Regions from separate parts of the Homo sapiens genome. Here regions 2 and 3 are each linked to region 1. Evidence: promoter capture Hi-C in human tissues and cell types (Jung and others, 2019). All regions are on one chromosome and are shown on one strand. Each heading gives the region's core, a stretch centred on a gene start or on the middle of the fragment in contact. The rest is flanking DNA. Distances are from core to core; before and after follow the strand shown. Region 1 holds the start of PDE3A (phosphodiesterase 3A). Region 2 has its middle 270 kb from the start of AEBP2. Region 3 overlaps LOC101928387 (a long non-coding RNA gene).

Region 1 (3,166 bases), core at 103-2,602:
TCGCGGCGGCCAAGCAGCTGAGCACCACCCCCGCGGCGGGGAGTGAGAGTAAGTGATCCTCCCCGACGCCCAGCCCAATCTGGACGAGCGCTTCCCCCCCGCAGCAGGCGGCCAGCAGCGCGACAGCCAGAGGCAGGCGCACCCCGGCGCGCAGGAGGTACAAGCCCATCCAGAAGAAGGCACACAGGAGACTGAAGAGCAGCGCCGAGGGCTGCAGCCAGGGGCTGAGCCGCGCACCGCCCCCGGGAGCACCTCCCCGAGGCCCCGGGAAGACGCCCCCTTCTGCTCCCGGGGCTGCTTCCTCCTCCTCCGCCGCCGCCGCCTCCTTACACTGCTCCAGGTCACAGCCGACCTCCCCGCGGACCAGCCTCACCAGCAGCGCCAGCAGAAAGGACAGGGAGCCCGCGCACAGCGCGGAGGAAAGTTTCCGAGAGCTCCGGAGCGGCTGCAGCACCAGGTCTCCCCAGCAGCCACGGCAGCCCGAGTCCCGCGGCGATGCGGGGTCCGCACGATGGTGGCAGTCCCGGCCCGCCGTGGGGGCTTGACTCACCCCACTGTGGACGGGCTTGTCCCTGACTCGTGCAGCGTCGCCGGGCACTGCCATGGTATAGGGTGCCCTCTTCACTGAATTCCCAGTGGCCCCCCGACGCCCCCGCCCCGACCCACGCGCGCGCGCGCACACACACACACACACACACGCACGCACGCTCTTCCCAATTCCACCCTCGGAATCCTTCTTCTCCCCAGGCCCACAATCCACTGAAAGTTTCAGCTTTCGAATAACTCCTGGAGAATGCTAGATGCTCCAATGAGACTTCTTCAAGTTAAAGGCTAGCACGCTCAAGTTGAAAACAAGCACGGGCAGAAACGATCAGGATTCCCCTTTTCTCTCTTTGAATATCTTTCACAGATTCTCTGCTCCACCCCCACCCCCGACTTATATCCTCCGGGGTCTCTTCCTACTTCAGGATTTCAAAAATTGCCCAATGCATCCCGCGCGCAGGAGCCGCTGACGCTGGAGGAGCCGGGGGCGCAGGGCGGGCTCCGGGCCATTCCGAGGCGCAGCTCGGCGCTGCGCTGCGCTGCAGCGCGCCGGGCCCGCGGCAGATGGAGGTCTCCCTTCTCCTCCTTCCTGCAGCTCTTTTTCTATCACTCTTTCTTTCTCCTCGGCCGATTCTCCCCGGCACGGCCCCAGGACGCGAATCGCCATTCCCTGGGGCAGAAAGCAAAGCCTCCCCCGCCTCTGTCAATCCAATTCATGGCAAAGGATGGAAAAAAAAAAATGGACAAGGGGCTGAGAAATAAGAAGTTGCTAAGTCCCGTCGGAGAGAGAGCCAGACCGAGAGACTAGCGGCAGCCGCAGAAGGGAGGGAGGGAGAAGGAGCGAGTAAGAGAGGAAGGGAGGGTGAGAAGAAAGGGAGGGTGAGAAGGGAGAAGGAGATTTGCTTTTTTTTTCCCTCCCCACTTCTATTTGATGCAAGGTTGGTGGTGATTTGCAGTTTTGCAAAGGGGAAACGAGTGGCGACGACTGCTTAAAATTGTATAAAACTGGCAACTGGAGTGATCGACAATTCCGCTTTCTTTCTTTAAGGCAACTCCCTAGGAAAGCTTTCTCAGCCGAGCTCCCGCCCCCTCCTGCGGAGGAGGCGCTACCCTCAGCTCGATTGCTCCTTTGCTGGGAAAGCGGCCGGTTCACCCTACAGGCTGGAGCAGGGGCTGCTGAGGCTGATCCACCGCGCAGCCCACCGCAGCCCCGGGGTGTGGGGGGCTGCGGCTAGCCCTGAGGCTGAGCTCCCTAGAACGTTGGAAGGAAAAAAAAAAAAAAAAGATTGTGTTTGCCTACTTGGCAGATGAGAGCCAACATACTTTCTACTGTCCCTGAAAATGACAGCCACTTCTACTGTCTGATTCAAAGATGTTCCCAAGTCAGGTACAACAGCAGTCCAATTTCAGGTGACAGTGTCATCCTTTGGTCGCTCCTGCTGGAAGGTCTGCTTTATGAGAACCCAAGCCTGGCCTGTTGGTTCAAATGATGGAAGAATCAGCCTTACCTAGACCACAATAGTATAAAAAGAAAGGAAGGAGAGGCAGCAGTCATTTAAATCCAGTGCATGAGTATTACACAATAGTTTTTGACTGTGGAAAGTAAAATTACATTGAGATTAAGTGACCGTATCCTCAAAAAAGGTTAACAAAGTTTAAAAGCCCAGATAGTTCATCAAAAAATAAAGAAAAATCTCAAGGGAGAGGTGAGGATAGGTGGGTTAACACTAGGAGAGATCTTAGAAGACTGTCTATGGCTGCAAAATACTACATCTTCGAGCAAAGCATATGAAAAAAATCAGGACCTTAGTTATTAATGAGTAAAGGTTCGTGTACTGCAGCAGTGTGATATTTGAGAAACTAAAAGAAAATTTTCAAGCTAACCTTTTTTTGGCAGATTATGAAAAAGAATTCAGTATCTGTTCAATGGACTTAAACTCTATTGATGTTCCCTGGGATCTAGTTGTCTTTTTAATATGATACTCCACTTTTAACATGGCTATCTTAGATGTCATTTGCCCTCACTAATAATAATCTTAATAATCCAATTTTGTCTTAATTATCTTGACATTCCAGGTTAAAGTGTATTTACAGCCTAGAGCATTTAGATAATTGATTCAATATGCCACTGTATTTTGTATGTAGACATGAAGCAATAAAAAAAGCCAAAAGGAGATCCTTGAGATAAAATTAATTTATGGGGACAGGGGGAGAAGATGACTTAAGTTTTAAACAGCTTCATGGGAAGCAGCCTGTTCTAGTAGAAGGCAGATATACTATAAAGGTATAGCTTCTCTCTGTCAGATGTCCAGAATTGTGCTACCACACAGGAGTATGAGTTGGGCAGCTAGTCAATGGCAGTGGGCACCATCTGTTTAATAATTAAGGAAACAGGAGCAGCAATGTCTTTGCCAAAGACAAATGAGCCCCCTAGCACGCACACATACTTTCATGAGTTTCCTTTTTAGACATATGATTCATATGCCAGATCCTACCTGGGACACATCGGAGTGAAAAACCTTGATTGGAAAATCATTCATATCTGTTGGCATCAAAAATAACATATTAAAATAATAAACCAAAAATCTGGCATATATCAAGGTTAAAAAGAAAAGCATAGTAA
Region 2 (3,203 bases), core at 479-2,978, 660 kb after region 1:
TTCTTAATTTCAAAACTTACTACAAAGATAAAGTAATCAGGACAATGTAGTACAAGACAGATATACAGATCAATGGGGTCCAGAAATAAACCCACTTCTAGCCTATTGATTTTTGGCAATGGTGCCAAGTCCATTCAATGGGGCAAAATTTGTGTCCTCAAGAAGTGGCGTTGGAACAACTGGAAAGCCTCATGCAAAAGAATAAAGTAGATCCCCTACACCATATACAAAAATTAACTCAAAATGGATCAAATACTTAAGTTTAAGAGCTAAAACTTTAAAAACCTTAAAAGAAAACATAGAGGTAAACATTCATAACCTTGGATTTGGCAATGGTTTCTTAAATATGGACCCAAAAGCATAACAAAAGAAAAATAGATAAATTAAACTTGATTAAAATTAAAAACATTTGTGCATCAAAGCACATTATCAAGAGAGCAAAAGGACAATTCACAGAATGAGAGAAAGTATTTGCAAATGAAATATCTGCCAAAGGTTTAATATCCAAAGAATGTCTACGACTCAACAACAAAACGACAACCCAAATAAAATATGAGCAAATGACTTGAATAGACATTTCTCTGAGGAAGATATATAAATAGACAATAAGCACATGTTACTCATCATTAGTCATTAGGGAAATGCAAATCGAAACTCTGATGTAATACTACTTCACATCCACTAGGATGGCTATGGTCAGAAAACAGACTATAACAAGTGTTGGCCATTACGTAGAAAGGTTGGAATGCTCTTATATTACTGTTGGGAATATAAAGTCATGCAATCACTTTAGAAAACATTCTAGCAGTTCCACAAAAAGTCAAACATGGAGTTACCATATGATCCAGCAATTCCGCTCCTATGTATATGCCCAAGAGAACTGAAAACACGTTCACCAAAACAAAAACAAAAACAAAACTTGCACATCACTGTTCATAACATTATCCATCACAGCCAAAAGGTGGAAACAACCCAAACATCCATCAACTGATGAATAAAATGTGGTATGTCCATAAAGTATAATATTATTCAATCATAAAAAATGAATAAGTATATTCATTTGACAGAATATATTCATTTGAGAGAATAAGTATATTCAAATGAGAGAAGCCAGCTGGACTTCCTGGGTCGAGTGCGGACTTGGAGAACTTTTCTGTCTAGCTGGAGGATTTTAAATGCACCTATCAGCACTCTGTGTCTAGCTAAAGGATTGTAAATGCACCAATCAGCACTCTGTAAAAACGCACCAATCAGCACTCTGCGTCTAGCTAGAGGATTGTAAATGGACCAATCAGCTCTCTGTAAAATGGACCAATCAGTAGGACGTGGGTGGGGACAAATAAAGGAATAAAAGCTGGCCACCCCAGCCAGCAGCGGCAACCTGCTTGGGTCCCCTTCCACACTGTGGAAGCTTTGTTCTTTCGCTCTTCACAATAAATCCTACTGCTGCTCATTCTTTGGATTCAAGCCACCTTTAAGAGCTGTGACAATCACCGCAAAGGTCTGCAGCTTCATTCTTGAAGTCAGCGAGACCAAGAACCCACCAGAAGGAACCAACTCTGGACACACTAATACATGGTTCATGGATGAAGCTTGAAATCATTATCCTCAGTGAAAGAAGCCAAACATAAAAGACCACGTATTTTATGAATACATGTATATGGAATGTCTAGAATAGGCAAACACATAGAGACAAAACTAGATTAGTGGTTTCCAGAGACTGGGAGGAGGAGAGAATTACTGATTGCTAATGGGCTCAGGATTTCTTTCTGGGGTAATGAAAATATTTTGGAAATAGTCATGATGGTTATACAACTTTGTGAATATACTAAACCACAGAATTGCATACTATAAAGGGTGGGTTTGTGACATATGAATTATACCTCAGTTTTGTCAAATTTGTGGTTTAGTGGGAAAAATAAACTAAGCGTGAAAGCCAGAGTCTCCTTGGCGCACATAAAGAAAATCTTTATGGGTACATGTGCAAGTTTGTTATATAGGTAAATTGGCTGTCAAGGAGGTTTGGTATACAGATTATTTGGTATACAGATTTCATCACCCAGGTAATAAGCACAGTACCTGACAGGTAAATTTTTTTTTCTATCATCACCCTCCTCCCATTTTTCACCCTCAGGTAGGCCCTGGTGTCTGTTGTTCCCATCTCTGTGTCCATGTGTACTCAATATTTAGCTCCCACTTATAAATGAGAACATGTAGTATTTGGTTTTCTGTTCCTGCATGAGTTCACTTACGATAATGGCCTCCAGCTCCCACTTATACTTGAGAACATGTGGTATTTCCTTTTCTGTTCCCACATTAGTTCACTTTGGATAATGGCCTCCAAATCCATCTATATTGCTACAAAGGACATGATCTCATTCTGTTTTATGGCTGTATAGTATTCCATTGTGCATATGTGTATATATGCCTGTGTACTATATCCATTACTGGGTATATACCCTTTTAAGCTCTTTGAGAAAGGCTTAACTGCTTTCTACAATAAGTGAACTACTAATAATTTACTTTCCCACCAGCAGTGTATAAGCATTCCCTTTTCTCTACAACCTCACCAGCATCTGTTATTTTTTCACTTTTTAATAACAGCCATTCTCACTGGTATGTGACAGTATCTCATTGTGGTTTTGATTTGCATTTTTCTAATGATTAGTGATGTTGAGGGTTTTTTCACATGCTTGTTGACCGCATGTATGTCTTCTTTTGAAAAGTGTCTGTTCATGTCTTTGTCTACTTTTCAACAGGGTTGTTTTTTGCTTGCAAATTTGTTTAAGTTTCTTATAGATTCTGGATTTTAACCTTTGTTGAATGTGTAGTTTCCAAATATTTTCTCCCATTCCGTAGGTTGTCTGTTTATTCTGTTGATAGGTTTTGTTTGTTTTTGTTTTGGTTTTGCTGTGCAGAAGTACTTTGGTTTGTTAGGTCCCACTTGTCAATTTTTGTTTTTGTTGTAATTATTTTTACCATCTTCATCTCTTCATCATGAAATCTTTGCCAGGATCTGTGTCCAGAATGGTATTTCCTAAGTTTTCTTCTAGGATTTTTAGTTTTAGATTTTACATTAAGTCTTTAACAAATCTCAAGTCGATTTTTGTATATGGTATACAAGAAAGGAGTCCAGTTTCAATCTTCTGCATATGGCTAGCCAGTTTCCCCAGTACCATTTATTGAATACAGAGTCCTTCTCC
Region 3 (3,461 bases), core at 471-2,970, 710 kb after region 1:
TCACAAAGGTTTTCTGGAAAAGCAATTCTAAACAGATATCTGAAGAATATGTTTTTCATTCAGTGATTGCTAAGGAAAAAAAAAAAAAAACTCATTAGCTTTGACCTGAATAAGGATACACTCATACACTCAGGCCTAAGTGTCTGGTGTAGAAACAGTGCCACACTAACTTCAGTGAGAAAGAAAAGCACAAATACTACATTTCCAAATTTAGTCAACTAGGGACATTGAGTCAGGCCAATTTAAAACAGGTCCAAAATTTCATCATTCCAAGGAGTTGAGTATTGTCTCTTATCTACTAATCTAAAATTAAATTTCCCGTTTAGCTTTGACATAGAGACTATTTATAGACATTCAAAAAAAAGAAGAAAATCAAAAGGCTTAAACCCAGGTCATAGGTCCTAAAACCAAAAGCAGTGAGAAGAAAGTGACATCTAATGGTTGGTTTCCTTCAAAACATCTCTGGTTGCCCCCTAAAACTCAAGAGACAAGGAAAGGGAGATTTTGACCTTAGTCATTAGAAAAAGTCTCAAAAATCCTAAAAAGTCAAAAATGTCATCCAGCCCTCTGGGAAACCGGCTCAATGCATTCAAATTAATGTCGTGCTGGGCTGCAGAAACTTTTGACCAGAAGGCATTCCAAGGAGTAACCATAAACAGCTTAAATGATATTAGATGCGTCATAAGATCTTTTTTTACTCTTGTTAAAAATAACAATAACAAACACTTATGAAGTACAGACATGTGCCAAATCCTGGCCTAAGTGTCTCATATATACTAACTCATCTAAAGATATTTTTCCACAATATTTATACGCATGAATAAACAATAGATTCTACTAAAATTCTTAAGGCTAAAGTAGGAATGAATTAATGTTGTGAAAAGACAGGAATATTAAATGTATTTCATTACTTCTTAGAACAGAACTGCAAAAGAACTTGAGAGGTCATAGTTCAGGAGTTGTTGAAAAATCTATCCCATGAGAGAAAATGCAGCATTTTCACTTATTTTTATTTATTCCTTCATTCTTTCTATGCTGCTCTTTGCTTTCTTGTCTTCCATCTTGTGAAAATATTTATGACAAACTTTTTATCCTGTCATTGCATTTTGCTGGTACTTTTTAGGCTTAAAGGTGAACTCCTGAAGTTTATCTCCTTCCAGGCATCATCTCTTCAATTCTGGAAACAGTTACCAGATAAATGGTGGTAACTAGCTTAAGCGTCACAGGACAAACGGCCAGGCTAATATCAAGAGTAGGTATATGAATCACAGCTATGTTTCTGCTGCAGCAAAATGTCTTCAAATAAAAATTAGACCATAAGCATTAAACTGCCTACTAAAAGAAGATTTTTTTAAATATTATATGTTAACCACTCAACCAGTTAAATATCAAACAATATAAACTGCTCCTACATTTAAGTGTAGTTTCATTTTTCATACAAGTTATAGAAGTCATATGTATTCTTACCTACAGTTTTATCAGTCAATAAATTACATGTGTTCTCCTGCCTATACGTAAGTTCAGTCTGAGAGACAGCATCAGGGATTTTTTTATAATAACCATTCCTTTGCAATGAATAAAGACACTAATTTATCTCTTATGGACTCATAATTTGTTCTGAAGCATCTTCTGTTGTTATGTGGACCCTCTTCATGCTCCTTGAAGGCTGGAGGAGTGCAGTGATCCAGGGCTTCACTGGTCTCCTGCTTTTGGAGTTTATCTCTGCTATATGCAGAAGCTTTTATTCCCTTTTCCTTTTGTAATACTCAGAACAGAAAATGCATAGACTACCTACCCTTACCGAAATATATAAAACTCTTTGCTTATATTTCTTCAATCAAGAAGAGGTTCTGTTGAGAACCAAATTTCTACATGGCCCAATCTTCTTTCCTTCAACTTTAAAGATCATTTATAATGTATTTTACAAAGAACACATTAGGATTATCTATTAATCAAGCTGGTAATCTCCATTAGAGGAATTGATTATTTTGTACTCCTCAGAACAAAAGGAACACAAATTTCAGACATATAACCCAGAACAAGTATAAGGATTTAATCAGCCCACTGCTGAAAAGAAAAAGCCCTGGCCCGTATTATTTATTGGTGACTTCCAGGAGCATGGACATAAGATCTTTTTTTCTTTCTGTTTCTTAAAGAGGAAAATTGCAAAAGAAACAGGAAATCTATCCTTTTCTCTTAATGCCTCTTAAGAGGAAGAAATGTTTCAGTCACGTTTCTGACTGTGGAAAAAAATGATAAGTTACTGGTTAAAAAAAAAAAAATCAAAGATGAACTCCATAACATTCTCCTTTCCTTAGAGTCCTCAAACTCTCACACAGTCCAGGCCCCAGAACCCTGCCCTCAGTTTCTTCCCAAATAAAGTCCTCCTCAACCTTTTAGGAAGCTTCCCTCCCAGCCTCACTCCAGGCATTTTTCCAGTACCCAAGAGGCCCTGGCACATGTTGGGTTCTCAATACCTGTGCCCTAAGTTAATTAACTATAAAACGAGCATGGTTATAAGCTTATTTTCAACTCATCCACAGGTCAGTTTCTCTGGCCAGAGTCAGCCTGCAAATACAGTAATTTCAATTTCACAATTGTATTTCTAGAGCTGTTGAGGGGAAGCAATCATGTTAGGCCAAACTAGCAACTGAGCCAGGCCTTGTGTCAGAAAGATGGGGGCTGACAGTGGCTAAGGCAATTTCCTCCAAAACACTAGGTAGTTAGGTCAGGAGAAACTTAAATAAGGCAATAGCTCTTCTTGTCATCAGAGGCCTTGGTTTTCACATCTGTAAAACAAAATCCTTGGTCTAAATGACTTCTGACACACTGACTTAAATTTTGCCACAGAGTTCAAGCTAGAAACAAGAAAGTAGCTGTAAAAGCCAGGGCCCTTCATGGTATAGCTAAGAGAGAAATCTAATTCACCAAAAATTCAGAGAGGGGAGTGCTTCTCATGAGAAAAGAATGAGAGACTAATTCCCAAGGATTTTCTCTTCAAATAGCACGTCGTGGAGAAAGAAAGATAAATGGAGAAATGTGGCAGTAAAAAAATTCTGTAGATGAGAAAAAAGACAGGGAACTTCTTAGTACCTGCCCTAGTCGTAAATTGTCAATAGAGACATGCTTTTCAAACTATGGTAAACAACTTGTTTTGTTTTTTATTTCTAATTTTATTGTAAGCTGATCTCTGATCTTTGTTAAGTTAGAGAGAGACATCGTAACACTTCATCTCTAAAGTATGGAAAGAGAGCAAACACTATCTTGAAGGTAATAATTACAGAATTGCTTAGCCCTGGTCTAGCAGATTTTAAAATAAATTTTGCAGAAGTGCGTTAAAACGAGCACACCGTGAAGGGCCTACTTGCAAACTAACAAGTTACCCTGCTAGAGTTTATGGATGCTGGGAGAAGACGTGAGACTCCTGGATTACAGGCAAATGAGAGGCTATTACTCACCAC

Evidence for each region. Contacts are between HindIII fragments. The study calls those that stand out against the background at their distance.
Region 2: a fragment that was not itself captured here is called in contact with the fragment with the promoter of PDE3A in region 1 in 2 of the 25 tissues and cell types used here (H1 embryonic stem cells and heart right ventricle).
Region 3: a fragment that was not itself captured here is called in contact with the fragment with the promoter of PDE3A in region 1 in 1 of the 25 tissues and cell types used here (aorta).

The regions. Positions count from the first base shown.
Region 1 is chr12:20,366,723-20,369,888 of GRCh38, reverse strand. PDE3A (phosphodiesterase 3A) reads right to left here and starts at 1,352. Exons shown (of 16, transcript NM_000921.5): 1 at 1-1,352. The coding sequence starts at 604. PDE3A-AS1 (PDE3A antisense RNA 1) reads left to right here. Exons shown (of 2, transcript NR_186033.1): 1 at 1-48. RefSeq lists a silencer at 20-314. The HindIII fragment of the contact is 7,833 bases long and covers 1-3,166 here.
Region 2 is chr12:19,705,662-19,708,864 of GRCh38, reverse strand. No RefSeq gene overlaps it. Among named protein-coding and RNA genes, the nearest start is that of AEBP2, 270 kb to the right of the region's middle. The HindIII fragment of the contact is 4,327 bases long and covers 1-3,203 here.
Region 3 is chr12:19,652,021-19,655,481 of GRCh38, reverse strand. It overlaps LOC101928387 (a long non-coding RNA gene), which reads right to left. Exons shown (of 7, transcript XR_007063236.1): 5 at 3,459-3,461. Among named protein-coding and RNA genes, the nearest start is that of AEBP2, 210 kb to the right of the region's middle. The HindIII fragment of the contact is 3,329 bases long and covers 56-3,384 here.